2 separate regions of the Homo sapiens genome follow, and region 2 is linked to region 1. The links are contacts of gene promoters, found by promoter capture Hi-C in human tissues and cell types (Jung and others, 2019). All regions are on one chromosome and are shown on one strand. The core of a region is centred on a gene start or on the middle of the fragment in contact, and the rest is flanking DNA. Distances in the headings are between cores, read along the strand shown. Region 1 holds the start of BPIFA1 (BPI fold containing family A member 1). Region 2 has its middle 33 kb from the start of BPIFA2.

Region 1 (5,477 bases), core at 1,923-4,422:
GGTTTTTGATAAAGTGGTAGTGACAGAGAACAAACAGGTGGTTGCCAGCAGATGAAGGCAGGGTGTGGCTGTAAAGGGACCCATGAGAGTGCCTTTGGGGGGATGGAACTGTTCTTTACCCTGATTATGATGGTGGCTGACTATACATGTGGTAAGACTCAAAGGACCATACCACTAAAAGAAGTCAATTTTACTGTAAGTTTTTTTGTTTTTATAGTCTTGGCTTTTGACTTGTTAAACTCAGGGCATAGGAGAGTCTGAGAACAGCATACACACAATGAAGTTGAAGCAAATCTTCCTGCCCACAAAACTAGAAAATGCCCTATGTTGGGTTGGTGAAGTGTGAGGGTCCAGGAGAACTGGAAGGAGCATAGTTCTGGTGGGTTCTGATGGTGCCTCCGTCCCTTGCTGCTCCCAGGCAGACCTGAGCATGGGATGAAGGGAACAGAATCCCAGGCACATGTATGGGATCCAGGGACAGAGGGCGTCTGTGTCCACACTCCCTCCCAGAGCCAGAAGAGGGCATGAGACCCCAGGGAGAGAAGGGTAAAGGGAGGGTCTAGGTGGATCCAGGCAGGAGGGCTTGGGCAGCCCCTCACAGTCCTGTATCAGGCCCAAGGAACTGGCGAACAGCAGAACAATTCTGTGTCTTACAAACGAGTTGAAAGTAAATGCTAAATCCAAAGGGACCTTTCACCAGGAGGGAAGTACAGTGTCTCTGCAATCTAGGGGCAGATGGCACATGGCTGTCTCCTATATTGCCAGCCAAAAATAGGGACAGGCAGCCTCCTTGGTACAAACAAAGCCCCTAGCACAGACATGAAACCCCAGGGGGAAATTGGGACATTTCTGTTCCTGAGCAAAATGGCATTTGAAATGGTAAAGTATAGATAAATCAGAAAGATGTGTGGACGCCTGAGTTTATGAACTGTGATTCATACCAGCTCCCCAGACATCATCTCCCCATAGCCCTGTGAGGCAGATTTTATGCTCCCCATTTTACAGGTGAGGAAACTGAATGAAGTTCAGGGAACTGGACTGACTTGCCCAGGGTCGTAGGATTTGAACCAGGGCTGTTTGAGCCCAAATTCACCCACTTTCTGCTGCAATACAGACACAGCCTCCCGGCCTCAAACCAGAGGGTGTAAGCTTTCATTAACTGGCTGCACAAACTCTACTAATTCCTTGCCTTATCTGCCTCAGTTTCCCCACAAGGATAGTAGCAACCTGACCCAACCCACAAGAGTTATACGATGGGACCACTGTGAGGATGATTGCCATGTACAAGATGTGGGCAGAGTCCAGCAAGTACCTTGAATGGATAATTAAGTTCAAAGCCATGGCCCCAAACCCTTGGGGGCACCACCCAGACTCTGGAGAGCAGTGGAGCAGGCCAGTGAAGGCCTAGTGTGAGGGAGGCAGTGTGGCCCACTGATTAGCAGGGACTCAGACAGACACAGAGGGTGGCAGGGTCAATTGACTCCAACACTCACTCGCTGTGTGTCCCCAGGAAGCAGTCACCCTTTCTGATCCTCAGCCTCCTCATCCAATGTATGAGAGACAACAATACCAACCACTCCTGAAGAAGATGAGGTTCAAATATGGAGAGCACCTGGCATGCAGTCAGTGCTTAATAAAAGCACATTTATTCCTTCTCTCTCCACTTTTGCTTATAAGGTGTTAGGTTTTGCAGGGTAAGAGCTGCGCTCACTGGTCCAGGACCTTGGCCTTCCTGTGTCTTCACTTTTTCATCTGCTGAACAGACTCCAAGGGCCCCAGTGGTGGGGATAAATAAATGCCTGATTACTCCATTTAGGGAAAGGTAGAAGAAAGGGTAGGATAGAGACCAGGATGCCAAAGGATCCCTCAGGCCTGGGAACCTGGAAAGACTTTTCCAGGACCTAAAAGAGAAGCGGCGGGGCACTGTGGCTCACGCCTGTAATCCCAGCACTTTGGGAGGCTGAGATAGGTGGATCACCTGAGGTCAGGAGTTCGAGGACAGCCTGGCCAACATGGTGAAACCCCATCTCTACTAAAAATACAAAAACTTTGCCAGGCATGGTGGCGCTCGCCTGTAGTCCCAGCTGCTCAGGAGGCTGAGGCAGGAGAATCACTTGAACCCGGGAGGTGGAGGTTGTCATGAGCTGAGATCACACCACTGCACTCTAGCCTGGGCGACAGAGTAAGACTGTCTCAAAAAATAAAATAAAATAAAAATTAAGTGAAAATTTAAAAAATAAAAAGGGACGCATGAAAGTGTAAAGTTCACAGGTGGGGAAATCAAAATGGCCAGCAAGTGTTGGGAGGCACCTTCATCTCTCAGTGCAGTGATTCGGGGAAAGGACCTGAATGTGGATGTCTCACCCCAGGCAAGCACTGCATCTCTGGACAACTTGCCTCACACTCAGCCTCAGTTTCCCCCTTATAGAATAGGAGTACAGGGTTGTGAGGATTTTGTGAGATGCTGCCTGTGAACACCATGGCAGGCCAGGCATACAGCAGGAGCTCGGCCAGTGTCTGCTGTTGGCGTTGTTTTTGTTGTTTTCATTCTCCAGTCAGTTGCATTCTAACTCTGCTGCATCCTCTCTGGGTCTTTCAGCACTTGTCCCCACTGGATCTCAGTTTCCTCCTCTATAAAAGAGGAGGAGTCACCTCTCCCTCTCAGGGTTCTTGTGAGGACAGAGAGCTCCTGACGTGCAATAGGGGCTCTGAAAACAGGAGACCCTTGCCCTGGAATGGAGACGCACCCCAGATGTAGGATGCAGTGTGACTCTTTTGACATTTTAGGAGAAAGAATCCTCCAACTGGAGCAAAAAAATTAGAGCAGGAGAGGAAAGGGGCCAAGAGATGAGACTGAGGTCCCTTCCTGGGCTCTGTCTGGCTGCTCCTTTCAATGCTCCAAGCTACCTTGGGAGCGTGGGTCCCCAACCTTGGCTCCGCTCAGGAAACCATAAAGTCTTGAGTAACATCCCATCTCAGGTTTTTCTCTGTTTATCTTGTTGACCAAATAGCTTAACTGTCTCACCTGCTAATGTGATTGGCAATTATTTACTTTGGAGAGCCCTGAAAGACACTGTCAGATTGCAGAATTCTCAATTATCTAGAAACCCATCACCCAACACATGCTTCCTCGTCCCCATACTATAAAAGAGGCTGACTCCTCGGCAGAAGTGAGTGGGGGAGAGAGAGGAGACCAGGACAGCTGCTGAGACCTCTAAGAAGTCCAGGTAAGAGCCATCCATTCTGTGGCCCCTCTGCTACCCTTAACGGCAGGGATCTCAGGCTCCTGCCCTGTGGGGCAGTGAGTGATCTTGATCACTCACTGGGGGCTGTGCAAGAGAAACAGACCTGGCCAATGTCAGGGATGTGGGGATGGCCATTTGCTCTGCTGTCCTAAGAGACCAGTAACATTGATATAGAAATGGGCACTATTAATGCCGTAAATGAAAGCCTCTAAGGCATAAGTTTTAGCTTGAGGTTACCAATGTGGATACAGATGATCCAAAAACCTCCTAAAATTCTTCACCCAATTTTATACATTTTGATGCATTTTTTCTGAGACTAGGATCTTTAGCTTCCATTGGATTCATAAAGGGTCTGTTGCCCAAAAGAGATTCAGAGGCTGTGGTCAAAGTTACCTCCCTAAGAAGGGCACAACTGGCTCTTTGGACCAAAGACCTTTCATTTCCAGCCTTCCACCACAAGGATGGAGCTTTAGCTGAGTCAGCCAATAGATGGAATTTTGCACAAAGTCACCAGTTGTCTCCAAATTGTAGGTACTAGTGCTGGCTCTGGACAACTCTGCTGGCTGCCAAATAGACCTGTGAGAGGTCTGCAAGCCAAACCTCAGGGGTTGACCGGAATTCCATCCAGGGCAGCTTGAAGGAGAAGAGAAAGGTGTCAAAATGATAGAATGCATGTTTGTGTGTTGGGTGAGGGGAGGGTTGGGAGACCTGCCTTCAACCACAGCTCTGCCATCAATTTATTGTATGACCTTGGGAAAGTCACTACCCCTCTTTGGTCTCCTGGTTCTTCTCATGCAATGAAGACTTTGATGGCCCCAGGAATTCCCCAACAAAGGTCTACATGAGATGGTGGCTGTGGCCATGCGACCCCTGTATTGTGTGACTTTCAAGGGCATCCACCAACCATCATGGCCTGAGCTCAGGCCAAAGGACTGAACAGGGATGATCTAAAACAGTTCAATTCTTCAGCACTTGCACGTTTAACCCTTCTCATTTGCTTTGTCTGAAGAGCAGCAATGATTCAAACCATTGAAGCAAGCCCGATTGGAGAATAAATCTGATGGTTACTTAATTTAACCGAGGGTTCACCTGGCTCTAGCTTCTAATCCTCTGTCCACCGTGTACTTGTGACCTTGGGGAAAGTTACCCACACTCGGTAGTACACAAGTGGGTTTCAAGAAGGGATGGGAGTATATTTGAAACTCCCAACTGCAAACTCACTTGACCTCTGTGAGCCTTGGTTTCTCCTACTGGAAAATCAGACAAGTGAACTGTGGGCAAGATGGAGTGAGGTGAGGCTGGGATTCTTGGCAAGAAGGAAAAAAACCCTCTTCTTTGGAATGTGGTGGAGTGGGGCTGTCTCCTTTTTAGGCCCCTGATCAGTGGTCCTCACCTGTGCAATGCAGGTAACAGGTGCCCATGTCTTAGGGTTGTGATGAAGATGAAATTGTGTAAAGTGGTCAGCCTGTTGCCTGGCAAAGAGAAATTGTTCAGCAGTATTAGCTATTACTAGTGACCCCCTGGTGTTCTGGGGAGCAAACAACCCCACCCCCCAGGTGTCAGGGCAGGTGGTGGATAAATTCCTCTCTGATACCCATGCCATGTTGGACTTGTCATTCTGGCCACAGATACTAAGAGCAAAGATGTTTCAAACTGGGGGCCTCATTGTCTTCTACGGGCTGTTAGCCCAGACCATGGCCCAGTTTGGAGGCCTGCCCGTGCCCCTGGACCAGACCCTGCCCTTGAATGTGAATCCAGCCCTGCCCTTGAGTCCCACAGGTCTTGCAGGAAGCTTGACAAATGGTGAGTTTTCAGGGGTGTATGTGTGCATGTGTGTGTGTGTGTGTGTGTGTGTGTGTGTGTGTGTGTGTGTGTGTGTGTGTCCAACCCTGCAAAGTGGGGAGGGACAGGGCTGGATGGGGGAGGGGGCCTGAGGATCTGGAATTGTCAGATCTGACCCCCAGAGACCCTTACACCCATTTCCAGCCCTCAGCAATGGCCTGCTGTCTGGGGGCCTGTTGGGCATTCTGGAAAACCTTCCGCTCCTGGACATCCTGAAGCCTGGAGGAGGTACTTCTGGTGGCCTCCTTGGGGGACTGCTTGGAAAAGTGACGTCAGTGATTCCTGGCCTGAACAACATCATTGAGTGAGTTGTCCTAAAATAGAGCTTTGATCTCCACCAGGGAACCCCAGGTGAAGATCTGCCAGCCCCAGGCAGTGACCCTGAAGCAG
Region 2 (5,477 bases), core at 1,584-4,083, 100 kb before region 1:
TGCTTTTCTGATGGTGCAAACCAAGCTTCAAGCATGGGAGGCCCTGGCTCCTTGGCCGTGAGCACTCTCTCCCCGACTCAGCCTGGCCCTGCTGTCCTGTCCCTCAAGCCTGCCATCACCCCACCCTGGTGGGGCCGTTTTTCTTTCTCCTGCTGAGTAAAGTGTGAAACAGGTGAAAAGGCTGCAGACAGACAGGAGGCCAGCCAGCCAGCCCCAGGCAGTGCCCCAGCCACCTTGTGGCTGACTCCCATTCCCATACCAGTGACACTCAGAGGGCACTGGGTAGAGCCAGGGTACCTGAGAGGGATGGCAGGAGGGATCAGGAGAGGCCCACTGGGGTCAGTGCTGTGTGACATGGCTCGGCCTCTCTGGGCTGCAGCCTCCTCCTGCTCTGACGTTCCTCAAACCCCCAAGAGGGTTTCAGGAAGAGTCACACTGAGGTTGTGAATGGTGACAGAAAGACCAACAGCCCCTTCAATGGGTACCACCCTTCACAGGTTGCAAGTTGCTCTCCTTGTCCCTCAGGGAGCAGGTGCTAAGGCCAGCACCAAGGGGGAACCTGAGACAGAGAAGAGTCAGTCCCACGACTGGCCAATGGCAGAGCTGAGACCTGCCCTGAAGCCCCGGTGCAGATTCCAGATCTGGCCTGGGATGTTCCGAGGGCCCTGGGTGCCCCTGGTGGGGAGGGAGAATTCCAGTGCAATGACTGGCATTTCCAGAGAAATGGTGACACTTCTGTCAGCCAGCACCAGGATTCCCTCAGGAAAACCGGGATCCCTTGGGAACATTGCCAATTCCCTAGAATTCCTGCAGGATTTGTACAGTATCTTCAGAGACATTGACATTCTTATGGACAATGATAGCTCTGAGGAAACACTGAAGCGTCATTAGAATTCCTTCAGAAACAAGTAAAAGGTCTTTTGGAAATAGGGACATTTCATAAAGAAAGGCTGGCATTCCTCAGGAATTTGGGCTGTCCTCTCAGGAATGTGTGCATTCTCATGGGAATTTTGAGATTTCTCTGAGGAACGATGAGACCCTCACAGGAGGGCAGCGGGCTCCCCCAGACAGTGATTCTCTCCAAGAACACGGAGAGACTCCCCAGGGAGCTGCCTTGGAGTCCGGAGCTGGCTTCCCCGGGCTTAGGACAGCTTGAGCAATCAGCGGAAAGGGGTGGGCTCTTCCCCATGCATTGTGGATATTCACTCAGAACAGAGACCCGCCCCCCAAGAGACATACAGACAAGTGCACACACGTACACACACACAAAGCCACATACAGTTACATGCACAGATGCAGTCCACACAGACACACACAGGCACCTGCACAAAAGCACACACAGACACAGACACACACCAGAACATACATGGACTCGCAGTGGCTTCAGGAAGTCACACTCCTCCCAAAGTTGCCAGCCCAGATGACTTATGGCCTCATTCCCCTCAGGGTTCCAGGGCAGGGCCCTGGATGCCCTCCCCACCTCCGTCCTGGTGTCAGCCAGAGTGACTGGTGCTCCAGGAGCCCTGCTCAGGCCTCTCAAGCCTCTGCCCACCCCTGGCCCCGGCCCCCACTTGGCCTGCCTACCTGCAACTTAAGCTTCCCTCTGCTCCTGGATCTTACTCCGGAGGCAGATGCAGGAGTCCCACCGGTCTTGGGTGGCCGGAACCACATCCTAGGTAAGGACCCTGCCCTCCCTGCTCTCAGAGCCCTGGGGAATGCGCAGGTGATGAGGAGGAAAGAGTTGGAGCCCTGGGTCCCAGTCCTGGCTTTGTCACTGACCTGCCAGGGAACCCAAGGGCCTCAATTTCCAGATCTGCAAAATGGGCACCCTCGGTCTTTTGTATATTATGTCTGTCAAACAGCCGATGCCCGACCTGAGGGAGAACCAAAGCCCACTCAGCCAGGGACCCAAACCATGTCAGCTCATGGATGTTTTGTGTTTATTTTGCTCGTCTGTGGTCCTTTTTAAGACAATGCCGTTAATTTTGGGGACAAAATTTCTTGCTCTGATAATCAAAAATAATTATTCCAGCTAGGCACAGTGACTCACGCCTGTAATCCCAGCGCTCTGGGAGGCTGAGGCAGACAGATCACCTGAGGTCAGGAGTTCGAGACCGGCCTGGACAACATGGTGAAACTCTGTGTCTACTAAAAACATAGATTGGACGGGTGTGGTGGTGGGCGACTGTAGTCCTAGATACTCCGGAGGCTGAGGCAGGAGAATTGCTTGAATCTGGGAGGTGGAGATTGCAGTGAACTGAGATTGTTCCACTGCACTCCAGCCCAGAAAACAGTGTGAGACTCCATCTCCAAAATAATAATAATAATAATTTCATCAGCGGCAGAAAATTGTAATCTGTCTAACATGACTAAGAAAAGCTCCTACCTGGGGGCAGGGACATAAGGACTCAAAGAGATGGTGCAGGAGTGCTGTGTACAGGGCCTGGCGCTTAGAAAATGTTGTCGTCATCACTCTATGGGCTCCCCCATTAGCCCCGAAGAGAACAGGGTCCCTGCTTTGCACAACTGCTTTGTGTGCACAGGTCCCAGGTGAGAAGGGAGCACCCTCACTTCCAGAAACGAGTTCATGCCCATACTCTGCAGGGGGGAAGCCGCGTGAGGAGCCATTCACGGGGGTGATGGGTAAGTTGAGTGTTTGCAAACAATAGTTGTTGTCGTTCCATTTCTCTGTCCAATTTCTGAGAAGAGAGAATTTCCGCCTACTTTGTCTGTAGGGTTCTAGAGCAGACATGGAAAGAATGCCATTGGCTGTAAAACACGCCACTCTTTTCTATGTACTAGCAAGAAAAAAAACACACTGTTACCTAAACACGTTGATGGTAAGATGCATTCTGATTTCCAAGAGAGTAAAATGAGAAAAAGATATGTCTTCAAGCCAATGAAACATGGTGTAAAAACCATGACGGGGTCATCAAGGTAATTGATACGACCTCCCAGCCCTTAAGGGGCAAGGAGTGTCCTCCTTCCCACTGTAGTCTTTCTTTTTTTCTTTATTCCATGTTTTTGTTTGTTTGTTTGTTTGTTTGTTTGAGAGACAGAGTCTTGCTCTGTCACCCAGGCTGGAGTGCAGTGTTGCCATCTCGGCTCACGGCAACCTCCGCCTCCTGGGTTCAAGCCATTCTCCTGCCTCAGCTTCCCAAGTAGCTGGGACTACAGATGTGTGCCACCACACCCAGCTAATTTTTGCATTTTTAGTAGAAACGAGGTTTCACCATATGTTGGCCAGCCTGGTCTCGAACTCCTAACCTCAGGTGATCTGCCCACCTCGGCCTCCCAAAGTGCTGGGATTAGAGGCGTGAGCCACCCTGCCCAGCCTATTCCACGTGTTTTAAATGGAGGTTTCAGTTGTATACAGTAAAAGATGCAGTAAGAAAGACAGGTTTTTGCTTATGTGTGCACCCTTGCAACCACCACCCAGATCAAGGGACAGGACTTTCCCAATACCCAGAAAGAGCCCCTTTTTGCCCCACTGCAGTCAGTACCTGCCCCCAGAGGTGACCCCTCTTCTGACCTCTATCTCTGTGGGCAAGTACTGTCTGCTCCTGAAATTCACAGAAAGAGCCATACAGTGTGAGCGATTCTGTAGCTGGCTTCTTTTGTTCAATGTCATGTCTGTGAGATCCCCCTATGTTGTTGCCTGTGTCAGCTTTCTAGCAAATTTATCTGTTTTTCTACATCACACTAAACCCGGTTCAGAATGGGTACAAAAGGGCATAGAGAGGGAAATAATAGACACTGAGGACTCCAAAAGGGGGGAATGGGGAAGGGGAGTGAGGGGGGAAAATTACCTATTGGGTACAATGTTCACTATTAGGGTGATGGGTACATTGGAAGCCTAAACTGCACCATTGCACCATTTGTCTCGAACTCTTGTCCTCAGGTGATCCACCTGCCTCGGCATCCCAAAGTGCTGGGATTACAGGCGTGAGCCACCACACCTGGTCCATTGCACCATTTGTTATGTGCAATATATCCATATAATAAACTGCACAGATAACTCCTACATCTATTTTTAATGAAAAATTAGAAAAAAAATGGAAAAATCTGGTTCAGGAACCCAGGCTTCTCCTCTCTCTTGCCCTCCCTGCTGGGGTGCACTCTGGCAGCAAACAATTCCCCCTGGCCTGTGCGTTGGCTGTGCCCAAGGCTCCCCACTCCGTCTGCAGGGTGGCCTGAGGGGATCCTGCTGGAGCCTCCATCCCTCAGCAACCTGAGGCCTGGACCCTTTCTTTCTAGCATGTGTCACCGCCCTGCATGAGGGCCACACATTCAGAGCTTCATCAGCATCCTTCAAGCGAGAGCTCAGATTTTCCCGTTCCATGTCTGCCCTCCTTATGCCCCACATGGGCAAGATCTGCCCTAGCTTGCTGTTCTCCAATCCCAAGCATGCTGGGCCCACCTTCCTCCTCCACCCATCTCACTCAGTCCTAGGCCTGGGTTTGCTTGAGCTCTCAAACTGGCAGTCCCAGGGATGTGTGCGGGTGTGTGTGTGCACACGAGAGAGACAAAGTGTATTTAAACAATTTTACAATTTTGAATTAGTTTATAGTGTTTTAAAACCAAGAGCTTTAATGCCTCCTCTTGACAAGTTGTTGTTGACTGTGTGCTATGATTCAGGCCCCTTTTCAGAGGCTGGGAATACAGAAGTCAACAAAACAAGGACATGGCCAAAAAGAAACTGACATTTTACAGGTGTTTGCATTAGAATAATAAAAAAAATTCCTGCTTCTCCTAATAATGGAACATTTCATCCAGAATGGGTACACATATCCTACCTGGCAACAGTAAGAATGGATCCCAGATCAGTGGTGACCTGTTGACCAACTGTTGTCTCCGCAGGCACCTGCTCTGAACATGGGGATGTTTTTGTGGACTTTCCTCCTCCCTTGGTACCTGCTTAGCATAAGCCATGCTCAGTTGGGAGGTTCCAGGTCCCAAACAGGTAAGCCATCCCATCTTTCCTGGAAGCTCCTTCCAAGGAGATTCCAAAAGAAGCAAGTTTACCTCCATTGGACAAACAGTCATCTGTCATCAAATCTGATTCATTAGAAGAGCTTAGATTTGCAAGTGTCACAAGAGGCAACTGGAGGCAACTCAGAGGTTCCTAATCTCCTTTAGATCACCTCTTGGTGTCTAGATTATGTATTATATTAACACAAACCACATGCACTCTCTGCTGTCTTAATCATAGTATTCCATTCTTACACTTAGTTCCCAGGTAAATCTTTCTAGCCTTAATCACTGATGATCTGAGTCCCATGAGATTGCAGAAAGGAGCTTGACCAGTTGCTTTGGGACCACATATCACAGATTTATAGCTTCCAATTTTACAATAAAGAGCTCGTAAAAAAAATCACCCATATGCTTCGAGTCCACAGCCTGACCCATGTTTTCTCTGAAAATTTCTTATCTGTAACCCAACTCCTGGTACCAGTTTCTGTCTTAGTTATTGGTTT

What was found. The method cuts DNA at HindIII sites, captures the fragments that hold promoters and counts their contacts. A contact is called where the count stands out against the background at its distance.
Region 2: a contact is called between a fragment that was not itself captured here and the fragment with the promoter of BPIFA1 in region 1, in 3 of the 25 tissues and cell types used here (dorsolateral prefrontal cortex, mesendoderm cells and spleen).

Annotation. Positions count from the first base shown.
Region 1 is chr20:33,232,824-33,238,300 of GRCh38, forward strand. BPIFA1 (BPI fold containing family A member 1) reads left to right here and starts at 3,173. Exons shown (of 9, transcript NM_130852.3): 1 at 3,173-3,227; 2 at 4,874-5,048; 3 at 5,232-5,391. The coding sequence starts at 4,889. The HindIII fragment of the contact is 6,820 bases long and covers 1-5,477 here.
Region 2 is chr20:33,131,936-33,137,412 of GRCh38, forward strand. No RefSeq gene overlaps it. Among named protein-coding and RNA genes, the nearest start is that of BPIFA2, 33 kb to the right of the region's middle. The HindIII fragment of the contact is 6,794 bases long and covers 1-5,477 here.